5 separate regions of the Homo sapiens genome follow, and all the other regions are linked to region 1. The links are contacts of gene promoters, found by promoter capture Hi-C in blood cells and fetal thymus (Javierre and others, 2016). All regions are on one chromosome and are shown on one strand. The core of a region is centred on a gene start or on the middle of the fragment in contact, and the rest is flanking DNA. Distances in the headings are between cores, read along the strand shown. Region 1 holds the start of PTRH2 (peptidyl-tRNA hydrolase 2). Region 2 holds the start of GDPD1 (glycerophosphodiester phosphodiesterase domain containing 1). Region 3 overlaps GDPD1 (glycerophosphodiester phosphodiesterase domain containing 1). Region 4 overlaps HEATR6 (HEAT repeat containing 6). Region 5 has its middle 5.0 kb from the start of MIR4737.

Region 1 (5,670 bases), core at 1,401-3,900:
GATTACAGGCGCCTGCCACCACGCCCGGCTAATTTTTTGTATTTTTAGTAGAGACAGGGTTTCACTGTATTAGCCAGGATTGTCTCGATCGCCTGACCTCGTGATCCGCCCAACTCGGCCTCCCAAAGTGCTGGGATTACAAGCGTGAACCACCGCGCCCGGCCCAATAATAAGGTTTCTTATTTAATGTAAGTAAGATAGGACTACTTCTACTCTTTAGTTAACTATACGTAGGCAAAAAACTTCAGCTTTTTCTGCACTTGGAAGTTCTGAAGTGACAATACATGACGACCAAAAAGGATCAGATTTAAACTCCCGAATGCAAAACTATACTCATTTTCCAGGAACCTATTTATTAACCATGGTGACTAATTCAATGGATCACGGTATCAAACTATTCTTTGCTAACTTTCAAAGGTGGGGCAAAGATCATCTCAGAAAAGTATGTGATAATATTTTCAGATAATGATGCAAAGTAACAGTATTCTACACTGACATATCTCCAGTTCTAAGAGTAAAGTGATACCATATTTTCATATTTAATAATTTCATGTTTACTAGCTCATTTAATCTTTGTGACAGTTGTATGAAAGAAAGTGAGCAGAATTTTTATCAACACAATCTAGACCAGCTCAGAATGTTAGGTAACCTATCAGCCATTACTTAACAAGTGTTGGAGCCCAGACTTCAATCCAGGTCTTCTGATTTAAAGTTTAATAGTTACCAAAATCCTAAAAAGTGGTGATTCAAGCCAAAAGCGAGAAGTTGGAAAAGTGAGAAAAACTGGATAATCAGTCCTTCAATTGAACATAAAGAAGATAAGATCAGATTTGGCAGTTATATAATCAAGAAGCAAATTTACCGAATGTTAAACTAATGATACATCTATCATAATTCCATATCTCAAATTTTGTCACCTTGTTTCAAAGCCAAGCGTGAACAAATTTTCAAACTCAAAATAAGAAAAATATGTAAACTGACAAACTGATTTAACTAGCTATAGGTAAACTGGTAAAAGGCATCATGGTTCTATGTATATTTTCTTCTGGAATGTGACTCATAGAAATTAAACTGTATTAATCAATTGTAATCAAGTAGGATATATCCCTCAAAGGAAAAAAGTAACCTTCAGTGCCTTAAGATAATGTAGGCAAAGTAGTAAAATATAAAATTTCTACTCGAGAGAGTCACTTCATACCTACACAAATCAGTCACATTTGTCTAGGTACCACCATCCCTCTTCCACAGTAAAAACATAAGCTACAATGCATACAATGATGCCTAGTAAGTAAGTTTCTTCCTTTCATCATCTATGCTAAGAATACACAACTAAAATCAGAGCTAATGACAATACAATTACTAGGTAGTAGCAACTGGAATATTAAATTCTATCATGACAACACCAGAAACACTTGTACAAGCTTCTTCAAATGATCAATGTAATCTGTCCACAAAAATCTCTGACAAGCCCCAAAGTAGAAATGAAAGACGTTAACATTAGGATAAGGAGCGATGCTGCCAAAACACATCAACAGTGGCCAGTCTACGTGTATTATTAGATTTTTACATGGAGTTGCAGGTAAATAAAAGATGATTGTGTAAAATCTTCTGGAGGTCATAAGTAATCTAGCAGTGTGACACAGGGCCACATATGGTTTCTGGAATTTTAGAGATTAAGTCGACCTTCACGTTTTACTGCAAATACCTCCACTGTAATAAGATATAGAGGTCGGGGTTCAGGGGTTTGGAAAGGCAGACAACTCTTTTTCATTAAAGCAGTGAAAAATCTGAGAAGTTCCTCTCCAAGGGCTCTGCGGAGCGAAGGCCCATTCCCTTGGCTACCCTGTACCACCAGAGCTTTAGATGGCACTTGCACGCCTGGATTTCGTTTAGGAGCGAATACATCTAGCATCATGCGCCAGAGGTTCGGGAGAGCAAAAACCAAACTGACAGATCCTGAGAAATAGCTCAGTCATCAGCAGGGAAGACCTTCTCCACTTACTCCAAGGTCCTGGACATCCCGGGACTAAGAGGTTCTCTAAAGAAGCCTAGCAAGGCTTCCAAGTACGCGGAGAGGAGAACGAACAGCCCGGTGTCTGGGTTCAATGTCCGGGTGACCAACCATGAGAAGGTGTCCCAAATAACCTGGCTACCGCCAGCGTGAGACATCCAGGGTGAGACATCCAGTCAGCAGCGTCCTAAAACACTGCTGGAAGTCGGAATCACAGTGCCCCAGATCCGCAATGCCTAAGTGGGAGAGCTCCGGAAGACGCCAAGCTCTGAGGACAGCCTCAGGCTTCGGTCCCCAATTCCCTGAGTTAGTTTACCTACCCGCTCCGACCCCGGCTGCTCCGGATCTCAGGATCCTGGAAGCTGCTCCTTACGGACTCTCACACCCGCCGCTGGGCTCCAGACAACCGGAACCCGCTCACGTCACTTCCGGTCCGGTCCCTCTGCCCCCTGAGACAGCCTCCAGAAGGGATACGTTCCTCCCTCCTTTCGGCGAGCTCGGTTGATCCTCGCGGGATTTCAGTTAGGCTCTTAGTGCGGGCCCTGTGGGTGTGGCAAGAGGAAGAATGACTGCTCGCTTTGTGATTCTTGATCCGGAACTTGTCACCCAGGAACCCCGGAAGAGGTAGCTCACGCGATAGAAACGTGTTCGCTGCCCAGAAGAAGGGAAGGCGCGAGTGAGGAAAGGAGGTACTGTAGGTAGGTTGGTTGGCTCCTTACAGGGCGAAGGAGACCAATATCATTATTCATTTTCTCGCCAGTAGGAACGTTTCTTTTCACCTCGTTGCATTACCCACCTTCTTCATTTTCTCCTTTATAAACTGTCTTCCGCCCAGGGGCCGCTGAGCCCTCTGTTCCTGTTCTGCGAACCGTCCTTTGGAGGAAAGGAACAGGCTGCTGGGGAGGGGAAGACTCAGAATTTCTAGTTCCCAGCAAAGCCTCCAGGCAGGCAGTATCGATGCGCTCTCTCCGAAATTGATAAAATAGCGAGCAGGCCTCATACCCTCAGCTGGGCACTTATGAATATCCCCAGCGTTTCGAGCTGTCGAGCTCTGCGTGGAAAGAATTGGTTTCTAAGAATATAGTCGAAAATTTGGGGCCGGGCGCGGTGGCTGACGCCTGTAATCCCAGCACTTTGGGAGGCTGATGTGGGCGGATCACCTGAGGTCAGAAGTTCGAGACCATCCTGGCCAACATGGCGAAAACCCATCTATACTAAAAATACAAAAATTAGCCGGCGTGGTGGCGCGTGCCTGTAATCCCAGCTACTCGGGAGGCTGAGGCAGGAGAATGACTTGAACTCGGGAGGCGGAGGTTGCAGTGAGCCGATATCGCTCCATTGCTCTCCAGCCTGGGCGACAGAGTGAGACTTCGTCTCAGAAAAAAAAAAAAAAGAAAGAAAAAATTTCCCCCCTTTTTCACACAAAGAGATTAACTAGAGAGGTATTAATCCTTACTGACATACCCCAGGCACCATACTAGACTCTGGGAATATGTTATACAGGGAAAGTGGGGCAGTGGCTTAAGGGTCAGAGAAGATTTGGGAAAGGTTTGTTTGTTTTTTTCGGTTGTAAACTGCAGACCCGGCGCGGTGGCTCAGCCTGTAATCCAACACTTTGGGAGGCTGAGACAGGAGGATTGCTTGAGCCCAGGAGTTTGAGAACAGCCTGGGCCACATAGGGGGCCACATAGTGAGACCCTGTCTCTTAAAAAAAGATTAACGGGTGGAGCATGGTGCAGAAGGAGGTAATGGGATCAAGAGCACTACTGAAATGGGTTTACTGAGGCAGGGGAATTAGAAGGCACCAAGAAGAAGATTTTATAGGATGTACTTATTTTGTTCTGCTGTCATTGCCCAGAATTATTTATGAGACAAAGAATGGTTATTTGTTTTACCTTAGTCTTAGGCACTAGGCTTATTGATACGCTTGTCGTAAGTGTACAGAAAAAGAGACAGACATGTTGTTTTAGAGGAGTTAGATGATAATCTGATCAGATTAATATGAGATTAGAACATCCTAAAGAACAAAAATATGTGTTAATTTTAGCATTTTTATGATTAGACACTCCATTGAGATATGGGACATAATAAATAAACTTGGTAACTTTTGGAACTTTCACTGTCCTGTTTTTGATCTTATTGGGTTTTTTTTTTTTTTTGGAGACAGGGTTTTGCATTGTTGTCCAGCCTGGGGTGCAGTGGCACGATCATGGCTCACTGCAATTTCCACCTCCCAGCCTGAGGTGTCCTCCTACCTTATCCCCTGAGTAGCTGGGAGTATGGGCATGTGGCACCACATCTGGCTAATTATTTAAATTTTTTGTAAAGATGAGGTCTCACTGGGTTGCCCAGATTGGTTTTGAACTGGACTCGAGATGCTGCTGCCTCGACCTCAAGCAACTCCTTGAGGCCAGGAGTTCCAGACCAGCCTGGGCAACATAGCAAGACCAAGTCCATACAAAAATAAAAAATTTTTAAAAAATCAGGAGGGTGTGGTGGCATGCACCTGTAGTCCCATCTACTTGGAAGGCTGAGGTAGGAGAATTGCTTAAGCCCAGGAGTTTGAGGCTGTAGCGAGCTATGATCATGCCACTGAACTCTAGCCTGGGTGACAGAGGGAGACCCCTTCTCTTTAAAAAAAAATAAAGAAAAAGGCAACTTCTCTGTTTGATCCTCATATTTCTCATCTTTAAAATGAGGCTAATATATCTTCCTTTTTATGTGTTCATAGCAACAATAAATGAGGTAATGGATATAAAGGATTTAGTATGTTATCCAGCACATAATAGCTTCTCTATGTAGAGCAGTTCCTTCTCCAGATAGTACCGGAATGTAGTGTATGGGATATTTGGTTACTTTGCAGCCTAGAAATTATTTCAGAGAATCCTAATTGCTGACATTGCATATTTGTTCAGTTTGGAGTCTGGTTGTTAGATTATCAAAGAAAAGTCCTGCTGATATGTAAGCATCAAATAGAAACTTGGCCAGGCATGGTGGCCCATGCCTGTATCCCAGCACTTTGGGAGGCTGAGGCAGGCAGATCACTTGAGGTCAGGAGTTCGAGACCAGCCTGGCCAACATGGTGAAACCCCGTCTCTACTAAAAATACAAAAATTAGCCAGGTGTGGTGGCGGGTGCCTGTAATCCCATGTACGTGGGAGGCTGAGGCGGGAGAATTGCTTGAACCCGGAGGCAGAGGTTGCAGTGAGCTGAGATGGCGCCACTGCACTCCAGCCTGGGTGACAAAGTGAGATGCCGTCTTAAGAAAAAAAAAAGAATTCTCTGTCTTTGTCTCTTTTAGGGGGTGGGGGCTGTAAAGGCACTAGAACCATAAATACTATGTCTGTGCAGCCCTGTCACCGTATTTAGGCACTTGAGTGGAAGAGCACTGAAACTAGGTGCACTACAGCTTACCCTATGTGACCCTCCTACTCCTGGCCACTCCATGTCAGTCTCCTTTGATTCCTAATGTTCATTTCCTCAGGATTATGTTTTAGTCCTTTCTTCATTCTACATATTTGTCCAAGTGGCCTCATACTCTTCCATCTCTTCAGTAACTTCAATTATATGGTAAGGTCTCTCAAATCTATATTTCCAGCCCAGACCTTTCTGACTTTAAACTGATATATCCTAGACCTTTCTGTCCTTTAAGCTGATAT
Region 2 (5,670 bases), core at 1,179-3,678, 490 kb after region 1:
CCTGTAATCCCAGCTACTCGGGAGGCTGAGGCAGGAGAATCGCTTGAACACAGGAGGCAGAGGCTGCAGTGAGCCAAGATGGCACCACTACACTGTAGCCCGGGCGACAAGAGGGAAACTCTGTCTCAAAAAAAAAAAAAAAAAAAAAAAAAAGGCTGGGCACTGTGGCTCACGCCTGTAATTCCAGCACTTTGGGAGGCCGAGATGGGCGGATCACGAGGTCAGGAAATCGAGACCATCCTGGCTCAGACAGTGAAACCCCGTCTCTACTAAAAATAAAAAAAATTAACTGGGTGTGGTGGCGGGCGCCTGTAGTCCCAGCTACTCGGGAGGCTGAGGCAGGAGAATGGCGTGAACCCGGGAGGAGGAGCTTGCAGTGAGCCGAGATCGCGCCACTGCACTTCAGCCTGGGTGACAGACCGAGACTCCATCTCAAAACAAACAAACAAAAAAACAAACAAACAAAAACACAAAAAGAAAAAAGAAAATTGCTTCTGTGACAGCAACTTGAATACTAAAAGTCGGTCCCTGGTTCCAATGGTTGAAGGCACCTTAGTAGTTAAATGTCATCCTACAGTTTAACCAGGTAGCTATTAAAACAGATAACCCAAATAAACAATAACAAGGCATTTGGCTGACCACCCTTTAAAACCTCTGAGGCTTTTCATGAGTGGGAAGGCTAGAATACTATTGAAGTCACTCATTAGAACTATGCTTAACTAATAAAATTATATAGAAGAATGATAATGTACTTCCGTATTTATATTTCAAAACCTTTTTCCTTGGCCAATACTTGTTAGTAAAGTGATTATGGTACTACACCAAGTTTTAGACTGTAAACTCCTAGAAATTATCATTTCAAGTGTGTATTAAATTTCAAGCAAATTTTAAACCGGTTTAAGATTCAGCCTTAAAGAACAGTTAAAATTGATTGAAAATAATCCAATTTCACCGCACTTTATACATCATAGTTGAAATGCAATGAAGACACATTATTACACAATAATGAAGAAGCAAAGATTTGGCCTGTTATCTGGGAAATTAGAGGGTGGACTACCTGGGCTCCTTTTAGCAAAACACTTTTCCAAAAGAAACTTATTTTTGTTTTCTTTAAACAATACTGTCCTGTCCTAAACGAAATCATTTTTAGTCTGTTGAAAATCCACGTGTCTTTGCGTGTTTATTTATTTATTTATTTATTTATTTATTTATTGCAGTGTTCAAAAAAAAAAAAAAAAAGATGCAAGGTTTCCAGCCCTGAGGACCAGGACGCTGTAGCTCCTGTCTCAGTTCAGCCCTAGCTCTAATTGTGACCTTGGGAAATGTCCCTGGCTCGGGGGACTCGGTTTCCCTCTCTTCTCAATTATGAGTGCTCGGAACGTGGGGGTGGGACGGGCCCCCAGCACCGCAGACAAGGGGTTACAGCTCGTCCAGCTTCATGCAAATCCCCAGCCCTCCTCGTCGCCTCGGCTCTTCCCATCCACTCAGCCACTAGCTCGCTCGGAGCAGTGTGCTCCCGGTGCCCCCCGCGGGGTACCCTCGGTTCTGCACGGCGCTCCCCCTTTGTGTCTTGCTGCTAGGAAGGGACCTTGCGATCATCCTTCCATCCGCCGAGAAACGCTCCACCTACCCTTCATTCTCGACCGTGTCTTTCCCGTTTCAGAGAACCCCTCACACTGCTGCCCTCGAGAGACCCCCGCCGTGGCTCTGACCGGGAATCCCTCTCCTTCCCTCCCCTCAGGAGACCTTCCCTTCACACAGCCTTCACCTCCGGAAGAGCCCTCAATTCACACAACCCCATTCTTCCTCAAACTCTCAGGGATTGGCACCCGGCTGCCTTTTGCGGAGCCGCAAAGGACCCTCAGCCTCCCCCACCTCCGTCATCGGGTTCTGGGGACCCCTCTCACCTCCGCGGTGAGAGATGTGTTTACTGAGGAATCGCTGCTTCTTTCTCTGGTGCAGCAAGGTCGGGTATTTAAGCAACAAGAATGAGGTCACCAAGTATCCTCCTAGCGTAGAGAGAAGGTAAAAAGCCGCAGTGGACGACATCTCAGTCACCGTGTGGGAAGTCTCCCACCTCCGGGCCCTCTGAACTCCGCTGCGGCAGTAGCAACGACGGCGGCGGCGGCGGCTGCTCGAGGTCGGCTCGCCCCCAGCCGGTGCCACTGGTGCAGCGCACTTGTCGGTGCCGGCCTACTGCGCACGCGCAGCTGGACCCCAGCGCCCCAGCAACAAAGAGGCTCCGACGCGCAGGCGCTCTCCGGCTCCCGTGTAGGAACCTGCAGAGATCCTGGACTGAGCGTTTGTCACCTAGCTCTGTGGACGGACCCTCATGAAGAGAAAGCTTGCAAACCTGCCAGTGTGTTGGCCATCACTCAAGCAGAAAAGACTATTCACGGGCAGCCTTTCCTAATTGGAAAATCCACATCAAAAAGGAAAGATTCCAGGGCGCGTCTTATCCCTTGCTCTAGAAAATGCAAATAATTTGTACCTATGGAGGCGATAAAGCTTGCTAAAACACTAAATAAACTCCTCCGTTTATCTAGCCTAGAGAGAATTTCCCCTATGGTCGCATATACTAGAAAAGGTACTGGTTTATCAGTCAAATATCTGAGAGATCGGCCCCTGTCCTCCCTCATTTCATTGTGAAAGTGCAATCCTCATTCTTTGTACACAATAGGCACTGTAGAAGTATTTGTTGACTTACAAGTCCGTATAAAATAAGGAAACTTTGTTAAGGTTATAAGGTATTACCTAAAAGTCCTAGAAAGACAGATAACTAAGTTCCAGAAGGCCCTACTAGTTTTCCTTTTACCCGACAAATTACAAACTGCTAACACACGAAAAGCCACACACTTCAATGCAAAAGAAATAAATCACCCAGGACTGAGGGAGAAATTTTACGGAGAAGACCATATCTCCCACAGGACTAGAAAAGCAGAGTGAATATTTAAAATCCTGATTCAGCCGGGCGCGGTGGCCCACGCCTGTAATCCCAGCACTTAGGGAGGCCGGGAAGGAAGGGTGGATCGCTTGAGCCCGGGAGTTCGAGACCAGCCTGGGCAACATGGCGAAACCCCATCTCTACAAAAAATAAAACAAAATAAGCCCGGCGTGGTGGCGTGCACCTGTAGTCACGCTACTTGGGAGGCTGAAGTGGGAGTATTGCTTGAGCCTGGAAAATCGAGGCTGCAGTGAGCTATGACTGCACCACTGCACCCCAGCCTGGGCGACAGAGCAAGACCCTATCTCAACTATAAAAAGAAAATTAGAAGAAAATAGGGGGTGGCTGGGCACGGTGGCTCAAGCCTGTAATCCCAGCACTTTGGGAGGCTGAGGCGGGCAGATCATTTGAAGTCAGGAGCCTGGCCAACATGGCGAAATTCCATCTCTACTAAAAATACAAAAATTTGCCAGGGGTGGTGGCGTGTGCCTGTGATCCCAGCTACTCAGGAGGCCGAGGCAGGAGAATCTCTTGGACCCGGGAGGCAGAGGTTGCAATGAGCCGAGAAGGCGCCACTGCACTCCAGCCTGGGTGACAGAGCGAGACTCCGTCTCAAAAAAAAAAAAAAAAAAAAAAAAAAAAAAAAAAAAAAAAATTCCTTTAGTCGAGGTTGAAGTGAGCCTTGATGGTGCCACTGCACTCCAGCCTGGGCAACAGAGCAACATTCTGAGGAAACTTACAGGTTAAAAAATCATGTGTTCTGTTTAGGGCTGTTAAACTATTTCCTGTAGATCAACTGACGCACATAGTTCTATTTTTCAAAATATCACCTGATGACTATGGAAGCGTCTAGAATAAACCACTGTGGCATAAAAATTATTTTGAGGCTGGGCATGGTGGCTCACGCCTGTAATCCCAGCACTTTGGGAGGCTGAGACAGGCAGATCACCTGAGGTCGGGAGTTCGAGACTAGCCTGGCCATCATGGTGAAACCCCGTATCTACTAAAAATACAAAAATAAGCCAGGCATAGTGGTGCATGCCTGTAGTCCCAGCTACTAGGGAGGCTGAGGCAGGAGAATGGCTTGAACCTGGGAGGCGGAGCTTGCAGTGAGCCAAGATCATGCCACGGCACCCCAGCCTGGGCGACAGAGCAAGACTCTGTCTCTTAAAAAATATATATATATTGAGCTGAAGGCATTTAAGTTCCTGGAATCCCTTATCAACCTAAAATCAAAGGCTCCCAGAAGAACTTAACTGTCATAAATCTCCTCCCTGGGAACAATTCTAATCCTGTCAGAGATGAGAGACATTGTCACAAAAGTATGACATCTCATGGGTATTCTCCTAAGGACACATTTATGTTTCCAAAAAATCATTTCTTTTTCCAAAAAGTGCTTTCTCCCCAGCTTCTAAGAAGTCATTTGTTCTTCTGGAAGTACCCCCTACCCCTTCCCACCCGTAAATTTTAGATTATATATAAACCTCAAATTCTAACCGCTTTTTTTTTTTTTTTAGACAGAGTCTCACTCTGTGGTCCAGGCTGGAGTTCAGCAGTGCCATCTCGGCTCACTGCATCCTCTGCCTCCCCGGGGGTTCAAGTGATTCTCCTGCCTCAGCCTCCTGAGTAGCTGGGGCTACAGATGCGCACCACCGCGCCTGGCTAATATTGTGTGTGTGTATATTTTTCTTTTCTTTTCTTTTCTTTTTGAAAAGGAGTTTCGCTCTTGTTGTCTAGGCTGGAGTGCAATGGCACGATTTCAGCTCACCACAACCTCTGCCTCCCGGGTTCCAGCGATTCTTCTGCCTCAGCCTCCCGAGTAGCTGGGATTACAGGCATGCATCACCTGGCCCGGCTAATAGTAGAGACAGGGTTTCGCCATGTTGGTCAGGCTGGTCTCGAACTCCCGACCTCAGATGATCCACCTGCCTCGGCCTCCCAAAGTGCTGGGATTACAGGCATGAGTCACTGGGCCCGGCTAATTTTGTACTTTTAGTAGAGATGGGGTTTCACCATGTTGGCCAGACTGGTCTTGAACTCCTGACCTCAAGTGATCTGCCCACCTTGGCCTCCCAAAGTCCTGGGATTACAGGTTCATTCTTATATTTTCTAAGAAGACAGAACAACAGGAAAAGTATGAATTCAAAGTCAGAGTTCTGAATTCTTTTATTATTTTATATAATTTTCTTTTAATGAAGGCGAGAGAAGAAAGAGGAGCATTTACTTTTTTTTTTTTTTTTTGAGATGGAGTCTCACTCTGTTACCCAGGCTGGAGTGCAGTGGCGCAATCTTGGCTCACTGCAACCTCTGCCTCCTGGGTCCAAGTGATTCTCCTGCCTCAGCCTCCCAAGTAGCTGGGATCACAGGAGCACGCCACCAGGCCTGGCTAATTTTTGTATTTTTAGTAGAGACGGGGTTTCACTATGTTGGTCAGGCTGGTCTCGATCTCCTGCCTCGGCCTCCCAAAGTGCTAGGATTACAGGTGTAAGCCACCGCACCCAGCCTATGTATATTTTTAAATTAAAAAACAATGGCTTTAAATGTAGCAAGATGTGTTAAATACATATTTCCTATATATTGAGACTAAAATCTACAATTCTATTTGTCCAACGTTTCAAAATTAGTGTGTCTATGGAAATGTAATCAATTACACAAGAGTTTAGGTATGTTAACTTAATTTGTACTTACCTAATTGGTGATATATCACAATATACCACTATATTGCC
Region 3 (5,670 bases), core at 1,456-3,955, 430 kb after region 1:
TACTTTGTTCTTGGAAAACTTTATTTCAGTTTAAACAACAAAGCAAATGATATTTATGTCATCCAGGGACAGATAGGAGAGTACAGTCATTCTTCATAGCAGTTTCATTGCCAAACTCCAAATGAGAGATGTAATCTAGGTAAAAGACACTTATTATTCCAGATTACATTTACCTCACAATCTGAGATCATGAAAATTAGTCAAATATATTAGAAACAGATGTACACGAAGTCACCTCAGATAAACTGAGAAAGTGATGTCTAATGCTTTGGAAAATTCTGTTTCTACTTAATACTCAGATTAATGAGTTTTAAAGATCAGGAACATCTTTATGGGGGTTCATAAATGTTAGGAACAATGATATGCACTTTCATCAGTTTAATTATTAGGATTCAAGATGGTATTTAAAATCTAGATGTAGGCTCAGTTAGTCAGTGCCAAAAATGGAAATCTTACATTTTTTTAGAGGAAACACAAAAATATGACTATTTGGATCTTGTCTTAATTTACAACTGGTAAGTTCCTTTTTAATGCTTAAAAAAATGGACATGGTAGAATTGCTACACACCTGAAAAAGGTCTCAAATAGAATGTTCCATTAACAACAACAACTCAGAAATCTAATTCACTCTACAGATTTTATTTCTGATCAACTAATCAACTTTTATTTTCTTGAGCCTGGCTGCTGCTGATTATGTATAACTTGCCAAATAACTACACATCACTGATTTCCAAGCTTTTTTCCGTTTTATTTTTCCTCTTTAACTAAGGTACACCTAGAAATAACAAGACACTACCAAATAGCTGCAATGGCCTTCAAAATTTCTTTTACTGGCCGGGTGCAGTGGTTCAAACCTGTAATCCCAGCACTTTGAGAGGCCGAGGTGGGTGGATCACCTGAGGTCAGGAGTTCGAGACCAGTCTGGCCAACGTGGCAAAACCCTGTCTCTACTAAAAATACAAAAATTAGCTGGGCATGGTAGCAGGCACCTGTAATCCCAGGTACTCGGGAGGCAGAGGCAGGAGAATTGCTGGAACCTGGGAGGCAGAGGTTGCAGTGAGCCAAGATCGCACCACTGCACTCCGGCCTCGGCGACAGAGCAAGACTACATGTCAAAAAAAAAAAAAAAATCTTTTACTAATTGATTGTATTCCAGTGAAGACTATTGCCAATTTTTTTTCTTTTTTTCTTTTTTTGAGACGGAGTCTTGCTCTGTAGCCCAGGCTGGAGTGCAGTGGCGCGATCTCGGCTCACTGCAAGCTCCGCCTCCCGGGTTCACGCCATTCTCCTGACTCAGCCTCCCGAGTAGCTGGGACTAAGGTGCCCACCACCACGCCCAGCTAATTTTTTGTATTTTTAGTAGAGACGGGGTTTCACCATGTTAGCCAGGATGGTCTCGATCTCCTGACCTCGTGATCCGCCCGCCTCGGCCTCCCATTTTTTTTTTTTTTTTTTTTTTTTGAGACGGAGTCTCACTCTGTCTCCCAGGCTGGAGTGCAGTGGTGCTATCTTGGCTCACTACAGCCTCTGCCTCCCGGGTTCAAGCAATTCTTGTGCCTCAGCCTTAAGAGCTGCTGGGATGACAGACGTGTACCACCACGCATGGTTAATTTTTGTATTTTTGGTAGAGATGGGGTTTTGCCATGTTGGCCAGGCTGGTCTTTAACTCCTGACTTCAGATGATCCGCCTGTCTCAGCCTCCCAAAGTGCTGGGATTACAGGCATGAGCCACCACACTCAGCCCAATGCCAAATGTATCCAATAGTCTTTGATTCCAGAATTACTTATGATAGAACACTGCATCATCTACAGAAATCTTGATCAATAACCTAGATAACCTAGTTTCTAGGTTATTGATCAAGATTTCTGTAGATGATGTAGTATGTACATTTCTGTGTATGTTATTAATCAAGATTTCTGTATAAGATCTAGAAACAAAAATGCACATTAAGAAATTAAAACTTACATCTCATAACCAATTATCTTTCTAAACAATTTACAAACATAAAATATACAATATTATTTAAAATAAATATACATATAATATATAGTTTCTACATTCTCATACAGGCTTAAAAATGAGGTAATAAAAACTGATTAAACCTTTTACCATTCTGGAAATGGCTTAGGGAAATGATCATGAAATATTTTTTTCTTAGGTCTTCATTTTTTCCTTCAATACTTCTAAGTACCTCTTTTTCTATGCTGAAAAGTTATGTAAAAAATCCCTAAGCTTTGTTGGATAGTCTGTCATCACCCCAGTTGCTCCCAAATCAAAAGCTCTTTTGTATTCTTGTTCTTCATTTAATACCCAAATATACACCTGAAAATTAGAAGTGTGAGAAGTATGAGAAGAAATGTTAAAATAGAAAATTATTTTTATAACAGTATTTATCCACTACAGTCTTGGTACATTTAGAAATAACCTTTTAAAGCTATCATTTAAATAAATCATTAGATCCTTTTTTAAAATTCCACTTTGTTCCTTACAGGAATGAGGAGTGTTAAAAAAAAATTCATGGTGCTTGTTAAATATACAGACTCCTGGCTGAGCGCGGTGGCTCACGCCTGTAATTCCAGCACTTTGGGAGGCCAAGGCAGGCAGATCACCTGAGGTCCGGAGTTCGAGATCAGCCTGGCCAACATGGCAAAACCCAGTCTCTACTAAAAATACAAAAATTAGCCAGGTATGGTGGTGCATGCCTATAATCCCAGCTACTTAGGAGGCTGAGGCATGAGAATTGCTTGAACCTGGGAGGTGGAGGTTGCAGTGAGTCAAGACTGCACCACTGCACTCCAGCCTGGGTGACAGAGTGAGACTCCATCTCAAAAAAAAAAAAGAAAAAAGTAAAAAAAGAAATATACATACATATATTTATATATATATACACACACACAAACACTGTCCCACCCCTCTGGCATCAGCTATTCTGTACATAAGAGGAATCTAGATCCAGAAATGCCAATGCTTTATTGCTAAGTGTAAGGAAGAGCTTAAGGTCCTCATTTGTGGATCAGTAAAGCAGCAGCATCAGAGTCAAGGGCCAAACTAAGTCAGTTAAAAGTTCTTGCCCTTTATATTTGTGTTAAACTGGTGAGCTATGCTGCTTCCAAAATGCATCATTCCAGAAACTTACTTGAATGCCTCGAGCAGTTAGGTGGTCAAACAAAGCTTTCCTCATTAGTAAGCTAGAAAAGAAAAAGCAAAACTGATTTAGGAATTTAGTCCTTAGTCCTAATTTAGTCAATTTAGAGTTTAGTAATTCCAGTTTAATTTAATCCCAATGCTTCAGCAATAAAAGAAATGGTCTCAAGTAATAATAGCTGTTGTGAATTAATTTATGTCTTAATTGCTGGATCTCCTTTCACTGCAGGCTGCTGGTTGGTGGACAACCAGAACCTCCTTTCTACTTCTTGCTGCTACCAGATTCATAGGAGACCCATTCTTGTTGGCACAGCTCAATGGAAAAGAGGCTGCCTCATTTTCACTGCTGAAGAAGGAGAAAGAGCTGGCTTTCCTTTCTTACTATTAATGTGTGTTCCTAACTTTCCAAGTTAAAATAAGTCAACAAATGCAGGTCAATTTCTATAACATCATAGTTCATTACACAATGGATTAGTCTTTTGTAAGCGATGTTAGAAGCATTATGTCCATTAATTACACTATCCTATGTCTAGGGAAAAAATATTTTTTTGTTCCAAGTAACTCACTGATAAGTGAACTTTCAAAATACAAACCTCTTGAGCAAGATAGGAATTCATTGCACTGGAAAGACATTATTTCTATTCTGTTATGTCTATTAGAATGATTAAATAACAGAAACTAGAAATCATGTGCTTTTAACACCAATTAACAATGCATCTTGTCAGTTAATAGGGTTGAAAAAAGAAAAAAAATGCATCCTGGTTTTACTTGAGTACAAAAAAAAGGCATCCTTGAAAACTAGAGCTTAAATCAAGAATAAAGCAAAAAAGAATAAACACTGACAGAGAGAAAAGATAAAACTAATTGTTTAAGACTCTTTGAAAAAGGCGTTAAGGCTGGGCGCGGTGGCTCACACCTGTAATCCCAGCACTTTGGGAGGCTGAGGTGGGCAGATCACATGAGGCCAGGAGTTCGAGATCAGCCTGGCCAACATGATGAAACCTCATCTCTACTAAAAAATACAAAAACTAACCAGGCATGGTGGGAGGCACCTATAGTTCCAGCTACTCGGGAGGCTGAGGCAGAAGAATCACTTGAACCCAGGAAGCGGTGAGCCGAGATCACACCACTGCACTCCAGCCTGGGCGACAGAGAAAGACTCCATCTCAAAAAATGAATAAATAAATAAATAAAATAAAATAAAATAAAATAAAATAAAATAAGAAGAAAAGGCGTTAAATAATAAAAAGTTGTGATTTGGGACTATTAAAATATTTAAGCATTCAAGGTTCCATCTTAAAGCAAAATATAGTACAATTATTTAGTGATTTTTACTAAAATTAAACTCATCATGTCTAAATTAAGGCATTTACTTTAAAGTTGATATCCACTCTATAGGTGGGATTTCCTTTCTGCTGTTAAGTCTTGGTGCAGAGCAAATTTTTCTGAGAAATGTGCTGTAGGCAACATACACTTTTATATATACTGTGTTGCTACACTTCTTTTCACCAGCAAGTAAGCTAAAGGGAATGGTTATTTAACCTAGTTCTGCTACTAACTAGCTAGATAACCCCAAGTAAATAATTTAACTGGGTATATGGGGGCTCAGTTTTCTCATGAAGTTGGAGGACATTATCTCTCAAGATTCTTCCTAAGATTTTGTGATTAGTAATTAAGATATTTCTAAATGATTCATACACATTTTACATAGCAGGTGCTCAATTTGTCCTTGTTACAAATTACATGTGGAAAGCTTGCACAACATTTTAAGGGTAGTATTTAATAAATATAGCTGAAGCAATAACTTGCATATTAAGAAATTAAAATTCTTACAGATCAGAAAGCCAGATGAGAAACTTTTGACTTCTGGACATGGTGTGTGGTTCTTTTAGCCTAGGGTAAAATAAAGTTTGAATTACAAATTAGAAACACAGAAATATATCAGTGTGATAAAATGAAACAAATTCAAAAATGAAAACAGTGCCTTGTACTTTGTATATTCTCAAAAAATATTTGTAAAAAGGACAAAAATAAAATAAAGGCCAGTTGGGTTCTGTTTGCACTGGTCTCAAGCTAACTTTTTGCCATCCCTATTCAAAAGTAATAAATAAATAAATAAATAAATAAATGCATACATAAATAAATAAATATTGTCTTTCCAGAGACCCTGGTGCCCTAGGCTCATATCTCGTTTCTTTTTTGGTGAAATCTTTCTCCTGCTTTGTCTCCTACAATTTAGTATGTGGCAAATTTAAACATACAACGGAACTGTATTATAGATCAAAGTGAGCAGTTTACCACGTGTTTTCCTTTCCTTTAAAATATCTGTAGGCCAGGCATGGTGGCTCATGTCTGTAATCCCAGCACTTTGGGAGGCTGAGGCTGGTGCATCACCTGAGTTCAGAAGTTCCAGACCAGCCTGGCCAACATAGTGAAACCCCCCCCCGTCTCTACTAAAAACATAAAAATTAGCCGGGCATGGTGGCGCACACCTGTAATCACAGCTACTCAGGAGCCGGAGACAG
Region 4 (5,670 bases), core at 861-3,360, 350 kb before region 1:
TGTACCAACTGTGGGTTCCAGAGCAGGCTTCTCTGTTTTAATTTTGTATACTGTTTTACATAGCTCAAAAGTAACTTGACTTAAGAATATAACTAAGTAATAGTTTTATTAAAAATACACTATTTGGAAGTCTGTACCTACTCGTCTGATCTTATCTATAATCTCTGTATGTCCCAATAAATGATTTGCTAAAAATACTTCTTTATCTTTAGTTGTACCAATGAGAATACAAGTGTTATTAAAAAAAAGGGGGGCTAATTTTTAGTTGTGTGAAAACTTTTCTTTTTTAATTAAATGCTGCAAAATTTGTTCTATGCTGTGGTTTAATCAAGCCTTTTGATGAGCTACTTTTTGTGTTTTACAGTGCCTTGCAAATTTAGTATCAAATGCACCTTATGATCGTCTAAAACTCAGCCTGCTGACCAAAGTCTGGAACCAGATAAAGCCTTATATTCGCCACAAAGGTTTGTAGTGGCTTAAAACTGATGGCTTCTTTGTATCAGTCAGATGCAGACTATTAGTAAAAATATACAGATATAGATATATGTATATATTCAAAGCATTTTTACAACTCTTAAGAGATCTCTGCTTATTCTTCTCAACTTTTCAGGGGTATAAGCTGTTGCAAGAATTGACCCCTCAAGTCCCAGTGGAAGTGAGCTAGAGGATTAATTGTAAAGTTTGCCTGTTTAATGCTCAGGGCAGTGACCAGAGTATCCCTTTAGAATTAAGATTGAGCCAGGTGCAAGCAGCCCCCCTGAGGAGTATGATTGTTTATATCCCTTACACATAGGTAGAGGATGGATGGATGGTTAGATAGACAGACAGACGGACAGATAGATATTATCTACTTTTTGGAAAGAAAAACTGGAATACAAAATTTAACTTCTTTATTGTTATTTCCTATGAAGTTCAGATAAAACCCCAGAACTTCAAATCTTTACTAAGTGCAGTCTTATTATTTCCTCCTACACATAATGTATTTGTGCTATAAACACTTGCCTTTTGTAGATTTGCCTTTCTTTTGTTTGCAAGCTTTCAGATCGGACCACATTCTGATGAGTTCAGTTTTTCAGGCAGAATTGTAACAAGGAAGGAATAGTGGATGTTTTCTGTGACATAGTGGGAAGAGCATGGGACCTGAAGTCAATCCAAGGGTCTGGATCCCACTCCCATTTTTGCCATCTCATGGCCATGACCCTCTCTGAACCCTAATTTCTTCCTAACAGCAAGAATTATAACTACATCATAAGATTTTTATGAGGCTCAAATGAGATAATGAGATGTAACTAAGTCCAGTTCACTACTTACACTAATATGTAAAAAAGGGACCCAGAAAGATAAGTCTTACCCTAAGGTTTCCCATCACATTCATGGCAGAAATAAGATGAGAACAACCCCTGCTCATTCCACTGTACCAACTTTTCATTATCTGCATCTTCAGCTGAGGAGAGTGCACCATGCCTCAAAGTTTCCTTTCAAGTATCTGACTTTATCCTCAAGTAACTTTTTTTCATTAAAATGTTCAAACCCTGAAATTCTTAGGTATGAGCCTAACAAAATATGTACAAGATCTATATGAAGAAAACTGTGAAACTCTGATCAAATAAAGAACTAAATGAATGGACAGAGATTCCATATTCCTGGATAGGAAGGCTCAATATTGTGAAGATGTTACTTCTTCCCAACTTGATCTATAGATTCAGTGCAGTCTCAATCAAAATTCCAGCAAGTTATTTTGCAGATATCAATGAACTGATTCTGAAATATATATGGATATGCAAAAGACCTGGAATAGCCAACACAATATTGATAGAGAAGAACAAAACTGAAGGACTGACATTCCCTGACCTCAAAATCTACTATAAAACTACAGTAATTAAGACAGTGTGATACTGGCCAAGGAAGAGACAAACAGATCAATGGAACAGAATAGAGAGCCCAGAAATAGACCCACATAAATATAGTCAACTGATCTACAACAAAGGAGCAGATACTTTTCAACAATTGGTGCTGGAACAGCTGGACATCACATGCAAAAAAAAAAATGAGTCTAGACACAGACCTTTTAGCTTTTTAAAAATATTTCTTGTTAAAATCCGGGGTTCATTCAAGGTACATGCATTGCATTTAGTTATTATGTCACTGTAGTCTTTTTAAATGTAGAGTCCCCCCACCCATCTTTTTTATATCAAACTGACTTAGGAAAGAATCCAACCCAATTGTCTTATAGAATGTGAACTCTAAGCTCTGTCACCAAAGATAACAAAATAAATCACATTCTCAATTTGTCAGATTGTTTCTTTATGGTGTTAACTTACTCTCCTGTCCCATGTATTTCCAAACTGGAAATGAGGTCTAGAAGTTTGATTAGATTCAGGTTACACAAGGAACTACTAATTTTTAATTGCCTGCTGGGATAACTACCATCTTTACAGTAGTTGTTGCCATGATGATAAGTTCTTACTGCTTCCTTTGACAGATGTTAATGTTCGTGTGTCAAGTCTCACACTCTTGGGAGCTATAGTGTCCACCCACGCACCTTTACCTGAAGTCCAACTACTTCTGCAACAGCCATGTTCTTCTGGACTCGGTAATAGCAATTCAGCAACCCCTCACCTCAGCCCTCCTGATTGGTGGAAGAAAGCCCCTGCAGGACCCTCTCTGGAAGAAACGTCAGTTAGCTCACCTAAGGGGTCTTCAGAGCCCTGCTGGCTCATTCGACTCTGCATTTCCATTGTCGTACTGCCCAAGGAGGATTCCTGTTCAGGTAGCGATGCTGGCTCTGCAGCAGGAAGCACCTACGAACCATCCCCCATGCGACTGGAGGCCTTACAGGTAGGAGATTTCATTTCCTCATCTCTGAAATGGAAGTAACCATTCCTCCTTCAGAGTGACTGTGAGGAGCGAGCAGGTAAAACCAAGCCATATGTCAATTGTGTTCGTGGGAATTGTATTTTAGGTATGGGTGGTGTATTGTTTTGTTGTTGTTTTGTTTTGGGGAGGTGTTCTTTGGTTGTAAAATAGCAGATTCATTCCTTTTTGTTCTTTGATTGCAAATTATTTTAGTCCCTTCAGGTATTATATGACAAGTGGATGTAATAGATTGTAGAATAATTCTGAGTGAAATTGTACAGTTAATTTTTGATTTTTGCAACTTAAATGTTTAATTCTCTATAAGCTTTTCCTTGGTCTTGTACCTGCTTAGAGTAACAAAATAATTGTTCCTTCAAAGGAAGAAAACAATCCTAGATAAAAGAGTTTACTTTTTCTATACAAATATGATCTGAGACTAGGCCTGGTCCTGAGGTCTGCTGCTGATTAACTGGGCAGCATGAAGCATGTCCTTTCATCTTGTCAGGCTTAGGTTCTTTAGTTGTAAAATTCAGTTAATACCTACTTTAAAGAATAGTTCCAAGACTTAAATGAGATTCTGTTAATGAAAAGCAATCATATACTAAAGCACCATAAAACTATGATACAGTTTATTGATGTTAGTCACAAAATAAAGATTATGGTTCTTAATTTCATTCAACAGATTTCAGCCCCTGTTAAATGTAAGCGATTTCTGAAATATTGTAACACTTTTCTGGATATTGCAGCCTTGCACTCAGGTCTTAGAGGGTTAATTCCATGCTCTCTTTGCAGGTATTGACTCTTCTGGCAAGGGGCTACTTTTCAATGACTCAAGCCTACTTGATGGAGCTTGGAGAGGTGATTTGCAAGTGCATGGGGGAAGCAGATCCATCCATTCAGCTTCATGGAGCAAAGGTAATTTTCATCAAAACCACAATGCTTTTTCCTTCTCTTCACTTTATATCCTTCCTTTTCTTCACTTTATATCCTTCCTTTTCTTCACTTTATATTCTTCTGCCACATGTCCTTCAATTCTGAGATTTCTTAAAGAGATTTCAGGTAAGGAGGACATGCATTCTTCTGTTTTCGGCTCTTACATATAAACCCCACGCATTGACTCAGTAACAAATTAATAAGATATAGCTGTTGATTTCAGTCCTTGAAAGAATGCCTCTGTTAACAGTGACTGAAAAAAGAAAGAAAATTAGTTGCAAATTATGTTTCCCCTTGATTTGAGGCGATCTCCAAACTCAAGTGAAGGTGTTACTAAAGTGAAGGTGTTACTAGAGTGAAGGTGTCACTCGAGTGAAGGTGTTACTCGAGTGGAGGTGTTACTAGAGTGAAGGTGTTACTAGAGTGAAGGTGTTACTCAAGTGAAGTCATTCATTAGTTCTGATGCTCCACTTCGGTAATTCTTTTTCTTGGCAGCTTCTGGAAGAACTGGGCACAGGCTTAATACAGCAGTATAAACCAGACTCCACTGCAGCACCTGATCAGAGAGCACCAGTCTTCTTGGTAAATAAATGTCAATTCATAGTTTTCTTTTATTAATGCTTCAGTTGCAGTTTTATTTTGAAGCTCAGTGATAAATGGAGTAGATGATATGGTTTCTTCCAGTGTCAAAAATTATGTTTTATAATCCAGGAAAACATGAAACTAGTATAAATTGGTTTTATTTTACATTTCAGTTTATTTGCAGTTTAGTTTGTGGTAGGCTTATGTATAACATATAACCAGCAATAGTAAAACTAATATTTCTTTTGCATAAAACCTAGTTTTTTATGCAAAAGAGGTTTATCTGGCTCACAGTTCTGCAGGCTGTACAAAAAGCATGGTGCCAGCATCTACCTCTGAGGAAGCCCCAGGAAGCTTTAAATCCTGGTGGAAGGCAAAGGGGGAGCAGGCATGTCATATGGCAAGAGAGTAAGCAAGAGGGAGATGCCAGGCTCTTTTAAACAACCAGCTCTCGTATGAGCTCATAGAGTGAGAGTTCACTCATTACCACAAGGACAGCACCAAGCCATTCAAGAGGGATCCACCCCCATGACCCAAACACTTCCTATTAGGCCCACCTCCAGTGTTAGAGGTCACATTTCAGCATGAGGTTTGAGGAGGCACACATCCAAACCATATCATTCTGCCTCTGGCCACCACAAATCTCATGTTCCTCTCACTGTAAAATACAGTCACCTCCTCCCAATAGTTCCCCAAAGTCTTAACTCTTTACGGCATCACTCAAAAGTTCAAAGTCTCAGCTGTGACTCAAGGCAAGTTCCTTCCACCTATGAGCCTGTAAGATCAAAAACAAGTTACTGATTTTTAAGATACAATGGTGGTACAGGCATTGGGTAAACAGTCCCATTCCAACAGGGAGAAATCAGCCAAAAGAAAGGGGCAACAAGCCCCACACAAATCCAAAACCCAGCAGGACAGACATTAAACCTTAAAGCTCCAAAATAGTCCTTGACTCCATGTCCCGCATCCAGTGCACACTGGTGCAAGGGGTGGGCTTCCAAGGCTTCTGGCAGCCTTGCCCTTCTGGCTTTGCTAGGTGTAGGCTGTGTCCCATTCCCAGAGTTCCACTAGGCAGTGCTCAGTGGAGACCGTGTGTAGGGGCTCCAACCTCACATCTCTCTTTGGCACTGCCCTAGTAGAGGCTCTCAGTGGGGGCTCTGTCCCTGTGGCAGGCTTCTGCATGGGCACCCAGGCTTAGGGAATCCTCTGAAATCTAGGTGGAAGCTCCCAAGCCTTCTTCGCATTTGAATTCTGTGCATCTGCAGGCTTAACACCACATGGAAACTGCTAAGGCTTACA
Region 5 (5,670 bases), core at 1,804-4,303, 330 kb before region 1:
AAAAATTGGGAGGAAGAGTCATCCAGGCACAGATGGCTAGGGCCCTTGTCCATTAGACTACAGCATTATGAGACGTTGCTTATCTTACTCTTTGAACCTTTTCTGTGACGAGTAAAAAACAAACAAACAAACAAAACATTAATTCCTATCCCCTTCCAGAACTCAAGAAAAGCGCCTCTTCTGAGGTTGGGTGCCATGGCTCATATCTGTAATCCCAATAGGCCAAGGCGGGAGGATCACTTGAGCCCTAGGAATTCTAGACCAACCTGGGCAATATAGGGAGACGGTCTCTACAAAAAAAAAAAAATTAAAAATTAGCTGGGTGTGGAAGTGCGCACCTATAGTCCCAGCTACTCAGGAGGCTGAGGTGGAGGATTGCTTGAGCTCTGGAGGTCAAGGCTGCAGTGAGCTGTGATCGCACCACTGCACTCCAGCCAGGGCAACAGAGTAAGACCTTCTCTCTAAACAACAAAAAAGGAAACCTCCTATGGAGCACCAATGCAAAGGTGTCCTTGATTTTGGTATTTGTGCTTGAATACAGACCATGAGCAAAAGCCTCACCATCTTTCCAGCATAAGAGCTAAGTAAATCAAATACTCTGGTTCATTCAGCCTTTGCTGCATTGATGTAGTGCAGTGGTTAAGAGCTTGGGCTTAAATCCTGGCTGTGCAGCTTTCTACCTGTGAAAGTTGCTTAACCCTTCTGTGCCTTATTTTATTCATCTGTAAAATGGGGATAAAAGTGCCTATTTCATAAGGATATTATAATGACTAAAATAGATAATACATAGAAAGTTCTTAGAACAGCTTCTGGCATTCAATAAATGTCAGGTATTTATTTCCTTGAATTTTCAGAGCAGCAGGCAGAAATACTGTCAACACATCATGAGCCTTTGTGATGGCAGTTAAACAGCTGGAATCTTGTAGGTCAGGTGCTAGCTGGCATGCCTCGGGAACCTGGATCAGAAAGATAAGCAGTGAGGAAGAGGCGCTGCTGCAGGACCTCTCTATCCTACTAGGAACAGCCCTCTGTCTAGCCCCCATGGGTCCCTCCCAGGAAAGAGAAGGGACTAGAAGTGGGAGAGGCCACACAAACTGAACAGGGAAGTAGGGGAGTAGGTCTTGGTTCTGCCTCATGACCCATCTCTGCGAGCCAGTCTTCAGGAATCACATCTCCAGCTTGCACACGCTCAGGAATTACTCCTGGTTTTAAAGGGCAACTCCTCTACTTAATGACTACACCCTTGGGCAGTCACTTGACCACTTATCTGTAAAGGGATACCAGTATCTCACACAGTTGTTCAGGAGTAGCTCCCATAATGTAAAGCACCTGGCTCGGAGCCTGGCATAGAGAGAGGGGCTCAGTGACAGATGGTGCCTCTTGTTACACTTTTCCTAGGTCTTCTCCCGGGGCTAGCATTTCTCTGCTTCTCATTGGAGTAAGATCCCTAGAGTGGGATATTGGAGAATGTCTGTCTGGTTCTAGTACACACCTTGAGTCCTCAAGCCTAGGCTGAAGGCATCCTCAGCTCCAGGAACATGGACATTATATTAGGGGTGGGGCCAAAGTCTTGGAAAATGAGCACTCATTCAATTACCATTTCCTTCCAACACACCCGAGCACCACAACACCGTAGCCCGCAGCCGTGGCTCACTGGACTCATCGGGGAGGAACGCGGTGGTGGTGCAGCCTCTCTCCAGGCATACTGCGTGAAAAAGCCCCTCCTTGAGAATGATTGCTTTACAGTCTCCACCATGACCAACCAGGATTTGCTGTAGGAATGCAGGAAAGTCCTATTAATAAAATGCAATCACATTAGTGGGTCAAATAAGAAAATACAAATGGTCATCTTTATGGATGCTGGAAGAGTGACGAAATGCAGTATCCTTTTCTGATCAAAATTATTTTTAAAAAAGAATTCAAAAAGATAATTCATTAGCATAATGAAATATACCTATCTTAATAGGGACTTCCCTAAAACTCAGAACCAAGACAAGCAAGAATGATATCACCAATATTACCTAATACTGTACAAGAAATTTTAATGGCCAATGTGATTCAATAAACCAAAAATCAAAATTTTCAAAGTTTTTTTTCAAAAAGAGGTTCCAAATTATCATTATTTGCAGAAAACCAGTCTGAGTGATTGGATTCACAAATCCTTGTGTGCAGAAAACCAAGAAAGTAATAAAACCAAAATTCAGAAAGTAATTAAACCAATATTCAGAAAGTAAAAAAACCAATAAAAGTTCTGTAAGGCAGCTGGTTACAAAGTAAACATGCCAAATCAGTAGCTCTTCTATATATCAGCAATAACCAATTTGATTTTTAATAAAAATTTTAATAATAAAAATACCTGAGAATAAATTTAACCAAGCTTATGCAAGGATTCTGAGGAAAAAAAATAAAAACTTTTACCAGTGGTCATAAAAGAAGATTTTTTTAAATGAGAAGATATATCATTACTAGACTGAAGGACTCAATCTATTAAAAGGCTACTTTCCTCCAAATCTATACATTTCATAAAATTCCCATCAAAATTAGAATTTTTTAAAGGACAAAATGATGTTTTTTTTCGAGACAGAATCTCACTCTGTCACCCAGGCTGGAGTGCAGTCATATTATCTTGGCTCACTGCAACTTCTGCTCATGGGTTCAAGCAATTCTTGTGCCTCAGCCTCCCAAGTAGCTGGGATTACAGGTGTGTGCCACCACACCTGGCTAATTTAAGGACAAAATGATTCTAAAGGTCATCTGGAAAAGTGAATAAAAAAATTCAAGCCAGGAATCAGGCTTACAGCTACCACACTGTGGAGGGAAAGAGAAATTTCTCCCCCAATTAGTGTGCATTTTTCAACCTTTAAAAATCCATGCTTTTGTTTTTTAAATAAAAATTCTTCTCCCATTCTCATTCCAGTCATACTCCGTCCTGTCTTTCCCACTGAATGTTACTATGAATCCTGGACCACAGGCATGGAGCAGCTAGCTCTGAAAACAAGGTGGTAGCAGGAAGATCAGGGAAGGAAAAGAGAACTCTAAACACCACCAAAGTGGCAGTAAGTCTGCCATTTTATTCCCCCTCTGGGGTCTCCTGGCCTGGACTCAAAGATGAACCAAAACCTGGAATTGCATACCAGATGCAGATAGAAAGAGCTCTGAGCCTCTGTTTCTGACCTTAGGAGAGAGGTAAGCACCCCTATAGGTCAGCAAAAGCGGGGAAATCCTGTGTTTGCTGTCTCTTTTCTCCCCACACCAGCCCCTAGGCAATCTCACTGCAGCAGTGGCAGCCAGGCAGGTGCCTAGAACTTCAAGGGAAGGAAACTCATCTCTCTGCCAGAGGAAGAATGGTCCCAACAGCAAGGGAGTCATGCCCATGGCTTTTTTCTCTTTACACAACCTTCCATGCTTGGCCGTGGAGGCAGACAGTCACAGAAACTGTAGGGCAGAGCAGTACAGTTAAAACCCTGACTTTCTAGCCAGAGGACCGGAAAGAGGGACCCCTGAGACTGTAAAGTGTTGAGATTTCAGAGAGGAGGGAACGCAAGAAGGCAATACCCTAAAGTTGTATGTGAACTCCTGGGCTCATGCCCAGGCATTCCATGTGTGGATCTGAACAAAGGCTTTGAGAACTGAACGGTGGGACAAGGCACTGTCCAGTCTCGTACCCGCCACTGGGTGGCGCACACACGGGGCGGATCTGAACAGCGCGGCAAAGGCTCTGAAGCTTAATTGATATTGAACCACAACCCGCAGGAGGCAGGTGGGAACTTGTGACTGAACCTAACCAGGACGATTGCCTGCCAAAGCAAAAACACAGGATTCCAACATGGCCCAGATTCTCATAACACAAAATTAGAATGTTCAGGATACCGTCCATAACTACTTGACCTGTAGAGAACAGAGAGAACCTTAATTTCCTGAAGACACTCCTGGGCTCAAGGGAATCTTCCCACCTCAGCCTCCCGAGTAGCTGGGATTACAGGTGCGTGCCACCACACCCGGCTAATTTTGTATTTTTAGTAGCGACCGGGTTTCTCCATGTTGGTCAGGCTGGTTTCTACATTTCACGTGAAGCACTAAATATATAACCTAAATAGACTATGAAAACCTAGGTGTTTTGTAATCCCTAAAGCAACTACATTTTCAACTTACACAAAAAGATATGGTTAAAAAAATCAGTGAATTAAAATGGAATTCCAAAAAATTCAAATAATCCAAAGGAAGGCAGGAAAAGTCAAAACAGGAATGAAAAACACAGGGAAAAATAGAGAACAAATAGAAAACACAATAAAATATTAAATGTAAATCCAAACATACCAACGATTATATTAAATTTAAAAAGTTGAAATATGCTAATAAAAAGATAGATTGTTGAATGTAAAAAACTAACAAACAAAAAACCCAACACTCAACTATATGTGTCTAAGAAACTCATTTTAAGTAAATAGTATAGATTAAAAATGAAAGGACAAAAAAGAAAGATATATCATACAAATACTAATCAAAAGAAATCTGGAGTAATTACATACCATCAGACAAAACAGACTTCAGAGCAAGGAAATTTACCAAGGATACAGAGGGACATTACATAATGATAACAAGGTCAATTTTCAAAGAAAACATTAACAATCCTAAGCATCTATGTACCTAACAACAGAGCTTCAAAATCCATGAGGCAAAACCTGACAGAACTGAAAAGAGAAATGGCAAATCAGCAATTACAGTTGGACACCCCAACCTGCCTTTCTCAGTAATCCCTAGAACAAATAGATCACATTCTGGATCATAAAACAACAATTTTTTTTCTTTTTTAGACAAGGTCTTGCTCTGCTGCTCAGGCTGGAGTACAGTAGAGCAATCTCAGCTCACTGCAGCCCAACTTCACGGGCTCAAACGATCCTCCCACTTCAGCCTCCCGAGTAGCTGGGACCACACGCTTGTGCCACCACACCTGAGTAATTTTTGTATTTTTGGTAGAGATGGGGTTTCGCCATGTTCCCCAGGCTGGTCTCGAACTCCTGACCTTAAATGATCCATCCGCCTTGGCCTCCCAAAAGTGCTGGGATTACAGGCATGAGCCACCACTCCAAGCCCATAAAACAAACCTTAACAAATTTAAAAGAACAGAAATAATACAAAGCAAGGTCTCTGAGCATAATGGAATTAAACCAGAGATCGATAACTGACAAAAATCTCTAAATAGTTGGAAATTAAATAATATACTTCTAAGTAATCCATGGGTCAAAGGAGGTAGTCTCAAAGGAAATGAGGATATTAGAAAATACTTAAAACTGAACAAAAACAAAAATACAATAAATCAAAATGTGTAGATGCAGCTAAAGAAGAGCTCAGATGGAAATTTATAGCATTTGATGCTTATTTTAGAAAAGAAGGAAGGCTCGAGTCAACAATCTAAACCTCAGCTTTAATAAACTAAAGAAAAAAAAGGGCAAAATAAACCTAAAACAAGCAGAAGGAAGGAAGTTTTGGTAAGTTAAAGAAGCCACTCTCAAAAGGTTACATATTGTATGAACACATGACATTATGGAAAAGGCAAAGCTACAGGGACAAAAAACATCGGTTGGTGGCCAGGGATTGGGGTGAGGCAAGGATGCCACGACAGGGAGCATGAAGCAGATTTGTGGGAGTGATCAAACTGTTCGGAACCTT

What was found. The method cuts DNA at HindIII sites, captures the fragments that hold promoters and counts their contacts. A CHiCAGO score of 5 or more calls a contact.
Region 2: a fragment that was not itself captured here is called in contact with the fragment with the promoter of PTRH2 in region 1 in 2 of 17 cell types (fetal thymus and total CD8 T cells); the score reaches 6.8 in fetal thymus.
Region 3: a fragment that was not itself captured here is called in contact with the fragment with the promoter of PTRH2 in region 1 in 2 of 17 cell types (endothelial precursors and monocytes); the score reaches 6.0 in endothelial precursors.
Region 4: a fragment that was not itself captured here is called in contact with the fragment with the promoter of PTRH2 in region 1 in 1 of 17 cell types (activated CD4 T cells); the score reaches 6.3 in activated CD4 T cells.
Region 5: a contact is called between a fragment that was not itself captured here and the fragment with the promoter of PTRH2 in region 1, in 11 of 17 cell types (activated CD4 T cells, endothelial precursors, M2 macrophages and 8 more). The highest score is 12.3, in activated CD4 T cells.

The regions. Positions count from the first base shown.
Region 1 is chr17:59,704,410-59,710,079 of GRCh38, reverse strand. It overlaps PTRH2 (peptidyl-tRNA hydrolase 2), which reads left to right and starts at 2,650. Exons shown (of 2, transcript NM_016077.5): 1 at 2,650-2,709. VMP1 (vacuole membrane protein 1) reads right to left here and starts at 2,426. Exons shown (of 12, transcript NM_030938.5): 1 at 2,332-2,426. RefSeq lists enhancers at 2,321-2,380, 2,181-2,836. The HindIII fragment of the contact is 5,892 bases long and covers 1,424-5,670 here.
Region 2 is chr17:59,216,989-59,222,658 of GRCh38, reverse strand. GDPD1 (glycerophosphodiester phosphodiesterase domain containing 1) reads right to left here and starts at 2,148. Exons shown (of 10, transcript NM_182569.4): 1 at 1,908-2,148. The coding sequence starts at 2,049. RefSeq lists an enhancer at 1,572-2,122. The HindIII fragment of the contact is 164 bases long and covers 2,347-2,510 here.
Region 3 is chr17:59,270,304-59,275,973 of GRCh38, reverse strand. GDPD1 (glycerophosphodiester phosphodiesterase domain containing 1) reads right to left here. Exons shown (of 10, transcript NM_182569.4): 8 at 4,979-5,038; 9 at 3,138-3,189; 10 at 4-2,323. The coding sequence ends at 2,201. Among named protein-coding and RNA genes, the nearest start is that of GDPD1, 53 kb to the right of the region's middle. The HindIII fragment of the contact is 939 bases long and covers 2,236-3,174 here.
Region 4 is chr17:60,054,216-60,059,885 of GRCh38, reverse strand. HEATR6 (HEAT repeat containing 6) reads left to right here. Exons shown (of 20, transcript NM_022070.5): 11 at 365-464; 12 at 2,483-2,838; 13 at 3,649-3,771; 14 at 4,285-4,371. Among named protein-coding and RNA genes, the nearest start is that of MIR4737, 14 kb to the right of the region's middle. The HindIII fragment of the contact is 2,146 bases long and covers 1,038-3,183 here.
Region 5 is chr17:60,035,280-60,040,949 of GRCh38, reverse strand. No RefSeq gene overlaps it. Among named protein-coding and RNA genes, the nearest start is that of MIR4737, 5.0 kb to the left of the region's middle. RefSeq lists enhancers at 788-1,082, 3,800-3,929. The HindIII fragment of the contact is 1,347 bases long and covers 2,380-3,726 here.